Regions from separate parts of the Homo sapiens genome. Here region 1 is linked to region 2. Evidence: promoter capture Hi-C in 16 types of primary human blood cells and fetal thymus (Javierre and others, 2016). All regions are on one chromosome and are shown on one strand. Each heading gives the region's core, a stretch centred on a gene start or on the middle of the fragment in contact. The rest is flanking DNA. Distances are from core to core; before and after follow the strand shown. Region 1 holds the start of DCDC1 (doublecortin domain containing 1). Region 2 holds the start of PRMT3 (protein arginine methyltransferase 3).

Region 1 (4,888 bases), core at 26-2,525, about 11 Mb before region 2:
TTTCATTTAAAATGCCCCAAGAATTCCAGGTATAAGTGTACCGACAAGTATGGAAAACGTGTTAGGTATTTCACGATATATATTTATACTTTAATTAATGAACAGCATTAAAAAAAAGAATTTTATAATGAACCAGGTGGTGTATGAACCTCTAAGAAGGTATTTCTGCTAGTCTTATGATAAAACTGGCACACAAGTAAGCACCCACTAAACACGCTGGAGGAGCTTAATGAATATTTACAAAATGAACGAATAAAAAAAAAGCAAAACAGAACATCAAAGAATTAAAATAAATTTGGGGGCATTCCTTCTGAAAGTTTCTCGTTTGCTTTTCCTCCAGATTGTCTGGAGAGCATGATATGGGAAATAACGTCAGCACCAGCTGGTAGAGAACAAGAGTCCCCTGTTATTGGAGAGGCGCTGAGACCTCGCAAAGACAGAGTGAAACTCTCTACGCGAGGATGCCCCAGTCTTCCACGCTCCAGAAGAGAGACCCTACCAGGAGCCCCAGAAATCAGGCAACCTCTTCCCACAGCTATATACACTTAACGAAACAGCCGGGGCCTCCTCAAGCTCGGGACTTGGGAATCTTCTCCATTCACAGTCGGCTTTACCCACCCAGCCATTGGCGGGCACCCTCTCCGCGCTTTATACGACATCAGACCTACCTAACTTCACATAGGCGCTGCTACCCACTCCTCGCCTGCTGTCGGCCAGAACTCCGGACCGGCTTCTTCTTCCGCCGGAAGTCACTGTTCCGACGTGTTCGCGTTTCTGGCCGAGCTGATGTGGCCGTGGCACAGCTCAGAAGCGACGCTCCGCCCACCCCGACGCGGTCTCTATGGTAACCGGTCACCGCTTCTATGGAGTGGCGTTTACTACCAGTAAGTTCCCAAACTGTGAAGAAAGGCGCCTTTGGCTTCGCTCTAAGTCTCTCTTTTCCGGGCCCCGCGACTGTCGCTTCTCTCCTCCTCCTCAGCGAGCACCCCCTCGCCATCCCAGGCTTTCCCCGCCTTTTTCAAAGCTTCCTCCGTTTACCGTACCCTGAGCTACTCTCAATCTTTTCGGTTGGTGCTTGAACTCTGGGGTGAGAGAGGGGTGCGGGGGCAAGGATGTGAGAAGGATGAGGAGACCTGATGCCACTCTCGTCCCTACAGTTCCTTTACAATGTTCTAATTCGAAAATTAAAAGAACTAAAACCTATGCCAGGTAGGGCTAGATGTGCGGGGGATGGGGTCGGTTTAATTTTTTCTGCAGAAGATATTCGACGTAATTATTAATATTTCTTTTAGACCTTAGCAACCAACTTACAACATAAAAACGTTCCAAAATTCTTTCACATTTGCTATTTCACTTCGCTTTCATTTCAACCCAGTGAGACAAGTAAGGCAGGTGCCATTATTCCCACTTTATAGATGAGGAAAGAAATCAAGGATCAAGGCCAAACAGCTAGTTGGGTAGGGGCAGAACAAGGACTCAGCAAGTCTACACATTCCCAGGGCAGCTATGCTATCTTTCAAGCTTACAGAAAAAAGCAGAATGAACTGTTCTTCTTCGAAGCAGTTAGGGGGCACTGCATATGGGCACTGTTGGGGTTTGTTATTGTTGCTGGTGGTGGTGGTGGTGGTGGTGGTGGTGTTTTTCTCACCTTTCTTTCTTCTCCCTTTCTTGATTCCTGTGTTTCCTTTTATTACTTCTTTGTGCTGCTTACTTTACATTAACACCTCTTCCTAGCATTGTACCTGGAGATGAAAACTACATCTTATTTTTGGCCAGCATGACATAAATTTCACTTGGAGATGTTAAAATGGTTTTGTTGTTACTGCTTTGATTTTGCTTTCCTTCTTTTTTAAACTTCTACCAATCTGAGTTTGAGAAGCAGTCAAGATAAACTTAAGCAGAATAAATAAAATAATCTAATATGATCAGTTATTTAATGATGTTATGAACTATAAAGAATAACTGAATGAAACAAGCAAGTTTAAAAATCTAAAGATGAAAGCATAGATTAGGTTCTCCACAGGGTTTTGTCATGTTTAAAGGCAGATACAAAGAGCATCTGGTTTTAGTCCTGGCTGCATCATACTTTCTTGTGTGGCCTCATGAAAATACCTAAAGCAATGGAATTAAGTAGTGTGGTGAATGCTTTTCTAAACAGTACTGTCAGAATGATGCCACCTTGAACATCTCTAGCCCTCAAACTCCCTTCTGTCCACAGCTTGGTTCTTCCTTGTGTAGGTAGATATGCTCCGGTACTCCAGGTTTTTTGTTTTTTACAGCAAAAGCATTTTATTTTGATTTACTATTTATTAGGTTATTGTGTTACCTTATTTATTTATTGGGGTTTGGAAAGTAAGAAATAGTTTTTTTCCCCAGCAATACCAAATATTTTGTCATTTCATCTCTACATACTTTAGTTTGCATCCCTAAAATGTACCAACTTTTTCTTTTATCTCCATAATGTCATTATTGGACTGTCACATAATATCTAGACCTTACTTACATTTCCACGGTTAATTGAAAATGTCTTTTTCTGGTTGGTTTGCTTGACTCAGAATCAGACAAAATGTACACTTTCCATTTAGCTGTTCTGTCTCTTAAATATCTTTTAAATTATAGCAGTCCCATTTCTTCACTAGAACCTTGTTTTTTTCTTTACTTGCCATTGGCTTACTGAATGAGAACAGTTGTCTTACACTCTGCTTATACCAAAATAAACTTCTTAAAACAATTTTTACATAAATTTCTGATCATTAAGCTTCCTTCATTTTTCATTTTATAGAGCAGTACTTTCCAATAGAAATATAATGTAAGCCGTAAGTGCAAGCTACAAAATTAATTAATCTAAAAATTATTAAGGCGATACTTTACATTCTTTTCTCCTACTAAGTCTTCAAAAGCTGGTATGTATTGTGCCCGAACACACCTCAATTTGAACTAGCACATTTCAAATGCTCAGTAGCCACATGTGACTAGTGGCTACTGTATCCAGCAGGGCAGGTCTAGAGAATAAAGTCCTAACTCCTTAACCTAGCATTCAAGTTACCTCTTCAATATGATCCTTACTTTTCCAACCTCCCCTATTATCTCCATACATTAAACATTTAAACAATTGGATCTTTTCATGGTACTGAAATCAACCCAACAGTCCCATAGACAGGGTTTTGTTTGTTTGTTTAGTTTTGTTTATTGGGGTTTTTTAAATTAATAAACATAGAAATGGACACTTCTTTTCTGAAAGCTTGAAACTTGCATTTGTTTTATCTTTTTGTTTGCTTGTTTGAGACAGAGTCTTGCCCTGGTGTCCAGTCTGGAGTGCAGTGGCATGATCTCAGCTCACTGCAGCCTCTACCTCCCAGGCTCAAGTCATCTGCCCACCTCAGATTCCCAAGTAGTTGGGACCACAGGTGCATGCCACTATGCCTGGCTAATGTTTGTATTTTTTTTTGTAGAGATGGAGTTTCACCATGTTGGCCAGGCTGGTCTGGAACTCTTGAGCTCAAGCAATCTGCCTGCCTCAGCCTCCCAAAGTGCTGAGATTACAGGCATGCGCCACTGCGCCCAGCCACATTTTGTTGATCTTTATCTCAGTTCCTTCCTCAAGAAAGGATGCCCAGACCTCTCAACAAGTATCAAAGAGCTGAAACTCACCAGATTACTGCATCTAGACAGTGATATGCCAGACCCCTCATTCTTCGTTATTGTTTCCTTACCCTTCCTTAGTTCCTGTTTTCTCATACGTAGTTAACATTTCTTCCCTGTTATATAAACCCCTAATTTTAGTCAGTGAGGAAGGTGAATTTGACACTGATGTCCCATCTCCTTGGCTGCAGCATCTGATTAAAGCCTTCTTCTTTGACAATAATCATTGTCTCAGTGATTGACTTTTTGGGTGGTAAGCAGCAAGACATAGATGGAACTCCTGGTGTTTTGGTAACAGCATTTCATCAATAATTGTGTTCAAATGCTTCTCCTTACTTATAACACCCTAATTCTTTTCTTCCTCCTATCAGAGTAATCCCTGCTTTAAGGCCTATCTCTTCCATCAAGCCTTTTATGATGGCCTGGTCCTTAGAACTTACTGCCGCCCCTCAACTTTCATAGCAAGTCCTTTGTATATCACAGTATATTGTTTTCCTTAGAATATATTCTGATTCCCCAGTTGGGTTGCAAGCTTTCTGAGAGCAAGAACACCTCTCCAGAGAAACTAAGAACCAGCTATCTTGCCTCATTCTCTGGAGTTCTAATGATACATAGCTCTAATAGTTTTGTTTCTCAGTATCTTATATTTAAAAGGCAATTTATCCATTTTATGTGAAACTTACATAGTGGAAATATAAACTATGTTAGTATCATGGTTAAAAGCATGAACTCTAGAGTCAGAACATATGTGTTTAGTCCAGGCTTTTCCTCTTACGGCTATGTGAACTTAATTCATCTCTTTGCTTTGGTTTCTTCCTCTGTAATATGGGAGTAATAATAGTATTTCCCTCATAGATTTGTTGTGGGAATTAAATGAGATAGTTGTGCCTGAAAGTAATAAGTATTCAGTAAAGGTTAGCTATTGTTGTTATTATTAATTAATAATATTTGTTGCACATTTGATATATTAGAATGTTGGACATTCATAACAGTATTTTAGGAATTTCCAAAGAGAGCAAATGACAGCAAGAAACAATTGAATTGGAAAAATAAAATCAAACCCAAATATTTGTTGAACTGTACATTTGGTTGGACTTCAGAATAAATTAAAAGGATAGGCAAAACTTTAGTTTGCGTCATCAGCATCTAACATAACCAAGGTAGGCGTATATTAAATATTTGATTCCCAGATGATTGATCAAGTGCTATAGATGTAGCTAGATACATCAGGAGTTTAAGATCCTTT
Region 2 (4,704 bases), core at 1,986-4,485:
AGCCTCCCAAGTAGCTGGGACTACAGGCACATGCCACCATGCCCGACTAATTTTTTGTATTTTTAGTAGAGTTGGGTTTTCACTGGGTTAGCCAGGATGGTCTCGATCTCCTGACCTTGTGATCCATCCGCCTTGGCCTCCCAAAGGTTTTCACTGGGTTAGCCAGGATGGTCTCAATCTCTTGACCTTGTGATCCACCTGCCTTGGCCTCCCAAAGTGTTGGAATCACAGGCGTGAGCCACAGCACCTGGCCTATTTAGTTAATTTTATTGTAGTATAGCTCTTCTACATCCATTTAAAGTGGAAGGCCTTAATTGTAAGGCAAGTGTGTTTAAATAAAAGTTTCAATAGAAACATCACCTGAGTATTTTGCATATTAATCTTAACTTCATCACTCTTTTTCCAGTCTCTACCGAACTTTGTATAAAACTCAGTCTCGTAGGCTGTGAAGTTCATGTCATGCTTTGAGCTGATTGTCTTTTTTCAAATGACCTGCGTCCTTTTTCAAGTCCTACATCTACACTTGCTCTCCCTAAATCTAATATGTAATCACATAAAATGTAAAAATGTAATCACATGCCAAGTCTGTTTTTGTTTTTAGTTGAAAAGCTAATATAAGCTTAAATACAGTGAATCTTGTCTAGAAGAGTGACTTATTCATCTTTTCTCAAGGACCGCTTGTCAAAAAAACTCCATTTCCACAAGATGTTGCTGTGTGATTCGCCATATTAAACTCGTACAGAAAAGGGTCTGAAAAACTATAAAATCTGAACTTATATTTCACAGATTTTTTTTTTTTTTGAGAAGAGTCTCACTCTGTTGCCCAGGCTGGAGTGCAGTGATACCATCTCAGCTCACTGCCACCTCTGCCTCCCAGGTTTAAGCAATTCACCTGCCTCAGTCTTCTGAGCAGCTGCTATTACAGGTGTGCGTCACCACACCCAGATAACTTTTGTATTTTAGTACAGGTGGGGTTTCAGCATGTTGGCCAGGCTGGTCTTGAACTCCCGACCTAAAGTGATCCACCCACCTCAGCCTCCCAAAGTGCTGGGATTACAGGTGTGAGCTGCCATGCCTGCCCAAATTTCACAAATTAAATTGCCTTTATTCTAAAAACTACTCACCATGTTTATGAACCATGCTGTCAATATTAAACTGATGCTCAGACTTACAGTGTGAAAATGTTTCTTCAGCAGATGTGAATAACCTGAAAAATCAAGCAATAGCTTCATGGAATAGTCCCCTAAGAAGTCTAAATACTGATTTCATGTTACATATACACTTTTTTTTTTTTTTTAACTCTGCTGGTTTCTAGTTTTACTTCCAATTAAGAAAAAACAAACACACTTGTATCTGAAAGGAAGGGAATCCAGCACTTTTAAAGGGAATTAGTACTTCTGAGTCCCATTTTATACCTAAAACCAATTATCCTTTAAATGTCAAAGTGAATTTATTTGTCAAATAATATCACTGATTTTATCAAAAGGCTTTTAAGAGAGTTCCCTTTGATAGAGTCTGTTTCTCTCAAGTCATACAATTTCTCTACTTGAGATTCTTTTCTCCTCTAAGTGTCAACTCTGCTTTCAGAGGCTTTGAACTGGCACAGCTCAAACTGCTTTTAGAAATAAAGCATAAAATGTAATTTTACAGCTGGCATACTCCCCAAGTGCCTTATTTCAAAAGTGATCTTGTAGTATTCCCAACGTACTTGCATCACAGACACTGTGAGGATCAATCCTCTTTATTATGTGACATGCAAATCTGAAGGCTACTTAAAGACAGGAATACACAGCAGAGAAGCTGTATACCTTATCTATATTCCTAACACATGTGGAGCATTAGTTTTCCACAAATGTTTACCGAGATAGGTTATGTCGACTATTTATGGAGGCTATCACAGCCACGGTACCACTGGTGCTCAATAAATATTTTATGACAACTAGAATATATACAGGCATTCTATCTACCCAATGGGGCTACAGATGAGAACACTAACGCACCACCACTCAGCACCATGCCCAGATACAGGGAACACTGGAAAATGTATTAAAGTAACACCGGCCAATGCCAACCGGGCCTCTTTCATGCCTACTTGCCTAGGACAGGAGCCAAAGCTTCCCAAGACTAACAGGCAGAATTTTAAGTGGCAAGAATGTGAGTTTGGAAATAAGCACACCACAGCTTTGTGACCTTGAGCAAATTATTGATACTACAGTCTTTTTCCTTAAGTGAAAAGTCCTACTTAAGTAAGGTGAACTTCCTTCTTAGACTATGGAAACCGCTCAAATAAAAAAGAAATGTTTCACCTGAGAAGCTCTGTACTGGTCAAAGAATTAGCATGGTAAAGCCGGAAGGCTCCGTAGGGATTATCTAGTTCAGGGTGGCTGCCAAATATGTTACTCGTTAGTAGTAACTCGTTAGTAACTTCACTGTTACTTCCGATCTTGTCCTCATAAAAACAGAATATTCTTAGACCCCATCCCTGACTTGGAAGGATTCAGGTGCAGAGTTCAGTATCATTTTGTTTTCAGCGTCTCAAGTGACAAGATTTGGGAACCACAGATTCAATGCACTACCAGTCAAAAGCTTGCAGTACAACCGGCCTTCCAGTTCACGGTTCCCCCTCTCTACTACCGAGGGTCCTCCTTCTCCACAAGCCCTCACCCCAGACCAGTGGTTCCAGAATTCAAAGACAGGCCACTCTGGCTTGCCTCCCGCCCGAAGGCGTTCCTGGGCACACAGACCCCACGCGCCCGGGCACCCTAGGGCAGAGGCCAGGCGCTGAGGCGGACGAACCTGTTACAGAACAGGCAGGGGGTCTGCTGCTTGCCGTGGGGGAGATCTGCATCGTCCTCATCCTCCCAGGCGGCCTCGTCCCCGCTGTCCGACAGTTCTGGCAGGTCCTCCTCATTCTCCACAGCGCCCCGGCCGCCTAACACACACACACAACAATCAGATCGGCCTCGGACACCGGTGCGGCCCGGGGGCTCGAGGAGCAGGTGACGATGGGCTCTCCTCCGCCCCGTTCGCCCGCGGCCCTCACTCAGCACCTCCTTCATGATCCCTGCGAGCCCCCCACCCTGCCCGGGCCCGTGTCCCGGAGGGTCTTCCACCGGCCCCACAGCGGCGCGGCCTGGGGCTGGACGAGCCGGGTGCTGAGGGGCCAGGGTACCCACCGGTAGCGCCTGACGCTAACGAGCACATGGCTGTGGTGCCCCGAGAGCCCGGCGTGTCTGGGGGCGGGGACCGGGTTGGGCAACGAGCGCGCGCAGCGGCCGCCGACTCCAGGAACGAGCGCGAGCACAAGCGCGAACCCGCGGCGGGACCCGGGCTCCGGAAACTTCGCAGACCGCCGGGAACGCCGAAGCGCGCGCGCTGGCTCGCAATCGCTTCCGGCCTCGAGGCGCCGTGCGGGTCACGTGAGGTGGGGGCGGGGCGAGAGCGGGGGCTCCGCCTCCTCCTGCCGCAGGGTTGGCGCAGTGCGCGCTGAAGAGGCGCGCTGATGACGGTTAATGTTGCAGCCCGGAAGATGACTTTTGTCTCCTCCTTGGGTTGCGGCAGGCGTTAGTGGGAGGTCGCGGCCCGCTGCTGTGAGCCCCAAGGCAGAGAGACGTCGCTGCGGTTTTGGGGTTGGCATCCTGTCCTCTGTGCGCCCCTTTTTCCTGGGATGAGCGGTTAGCGGAGGGGCGATCGGCCCATGACGCCCTCTGGTGGCGGAGGAGGCCAAACGCTGGAGGCTCGGCTGGTTTCTGGGCTCCCAGGTCCTGGAGGGGGTGCAGCTGGCGAGAGGGAACGAACTGCATGGGCCAGGGTGGGTCTACTGCAGGGACAGATAGGTGTCAAACCCCCCAAGACGGATTTTAATCTTTGGTTAAGTGAGAACGTGAACTCTAGAGGCAGCCTGCTGGGTTTGAATCCTACCCACGTCACTTTGTAACTGTGATCTTGGGCAAGTTACTCGACCTCTCTCTGCCTCAGTTTCATCAAATACAAAACAAGGATAATAACTGCACTTGGGCAGGGCACGGTGGCTCACGTCTATAGTACCAGCACTTTGGGAGGCTGAGGCGGGCGGATCACCTGAGGTCAGGAGTTGGAGACCAGCCTGGCCAACATGGTGAAACCCTGTCCCTACTAAAAATACAAAAATTAACCAGGTGTGGTGGCACGCGCCTGCAATCCCAGCTACTTGGGAGGCTGAGGCAGGAGAATTGCTTGAGCCCGGGAGGCGGAGCTTGTGGTGAGCCGAGATTGTGCCACCGTACTCCAGCCTGGGCAACAGAGCAAGACTCCATCTTAAAAAAAAAAAAACAAAAAACAAAAAACCTGGACTAACTTCAGAACTACAGTAAGGATAAAACGAGTTAATACATGTAAAGTGCTCAGACATAACTATTTAAGCCAGGGAGTGATGCTCTCAGATGTGTTGAGAAAGTAACAATCTGGCTGCTGTGTGGGGAAGAACACAAATGTTCCCCTGCCTGCCTCATGCCACGTCCCTTTCTTCCTTTCCTTATATCTCTTCAAACCATAGAACTTTTTTTTGTTTGATTTTTGAGACGGAGTTTCGCTCTTGTTGCCCAGGCTGGAGTGCAATGGCACGATCTCAGGCTCACCGCAACCTCCACCTTCCGGGTTCAAGCGATTCTCTTGCCTCAGCCTCCCGAGTAGTTGGGATTACAGGCATGCGCCACCACGTCCGGC

Evidence for each region. The method cuts DNA at HindIII sites, captures the fragments that hold promoters and counts their contacts. A CHiCAGO score of 5 or more calls a contact.
Region 1: a contact is called between a fragment that was not itself captured here and the fragment with the promoter of PRMT3 in region 2, in 1 of 17 cell types (activated CD4 T cells). The highest score is 5.5, in activated CD4 T cells.

Annotation. Positions count from the first base shown.
Region 1 is chr11:31,365,693-31,370,580 of GRCh38, reverse strand. It overlaps DCDC1 (doublecortin domain containing 1), which reads left to right and starts at 842. Exons shown (of 39, transcript NM_001387274.1): 1 at 842-884. It overlaps DNAJC24 (DnaJ heat shock protein family (Hsp40) member C24), which reads right to left and starts at 721. Exons shown (of 5, transcript NM_181706.5): 1 at 669-721. RefSeq lists an enhancer at 429-908. The HindIII fragment of the contact is 497 bases long and covers 1,027-1,523 here.
Region 2 is chr11:20,386,247-20,390,950 of GRCh38, reverse strand. PRMT3 (protein arginine methyltransferase 3) reads right to left here and starts at 3,235. Exons shown (of 16, transcript NM_005788.4): 1 at 3,177-3,235; 2 at 2,797-2,932; 3 at 1,125-1,207. The coding sequence starts at 3,204. RefSeq lists enhancers at 2,365-2,414, 2,270-2,876, 2,877-3,484, 3,358-3,527 and a silencer at 2,965-3,524. The HindIII fragment of the contact is 3,061 bases long and covers 2,589-4,704 here.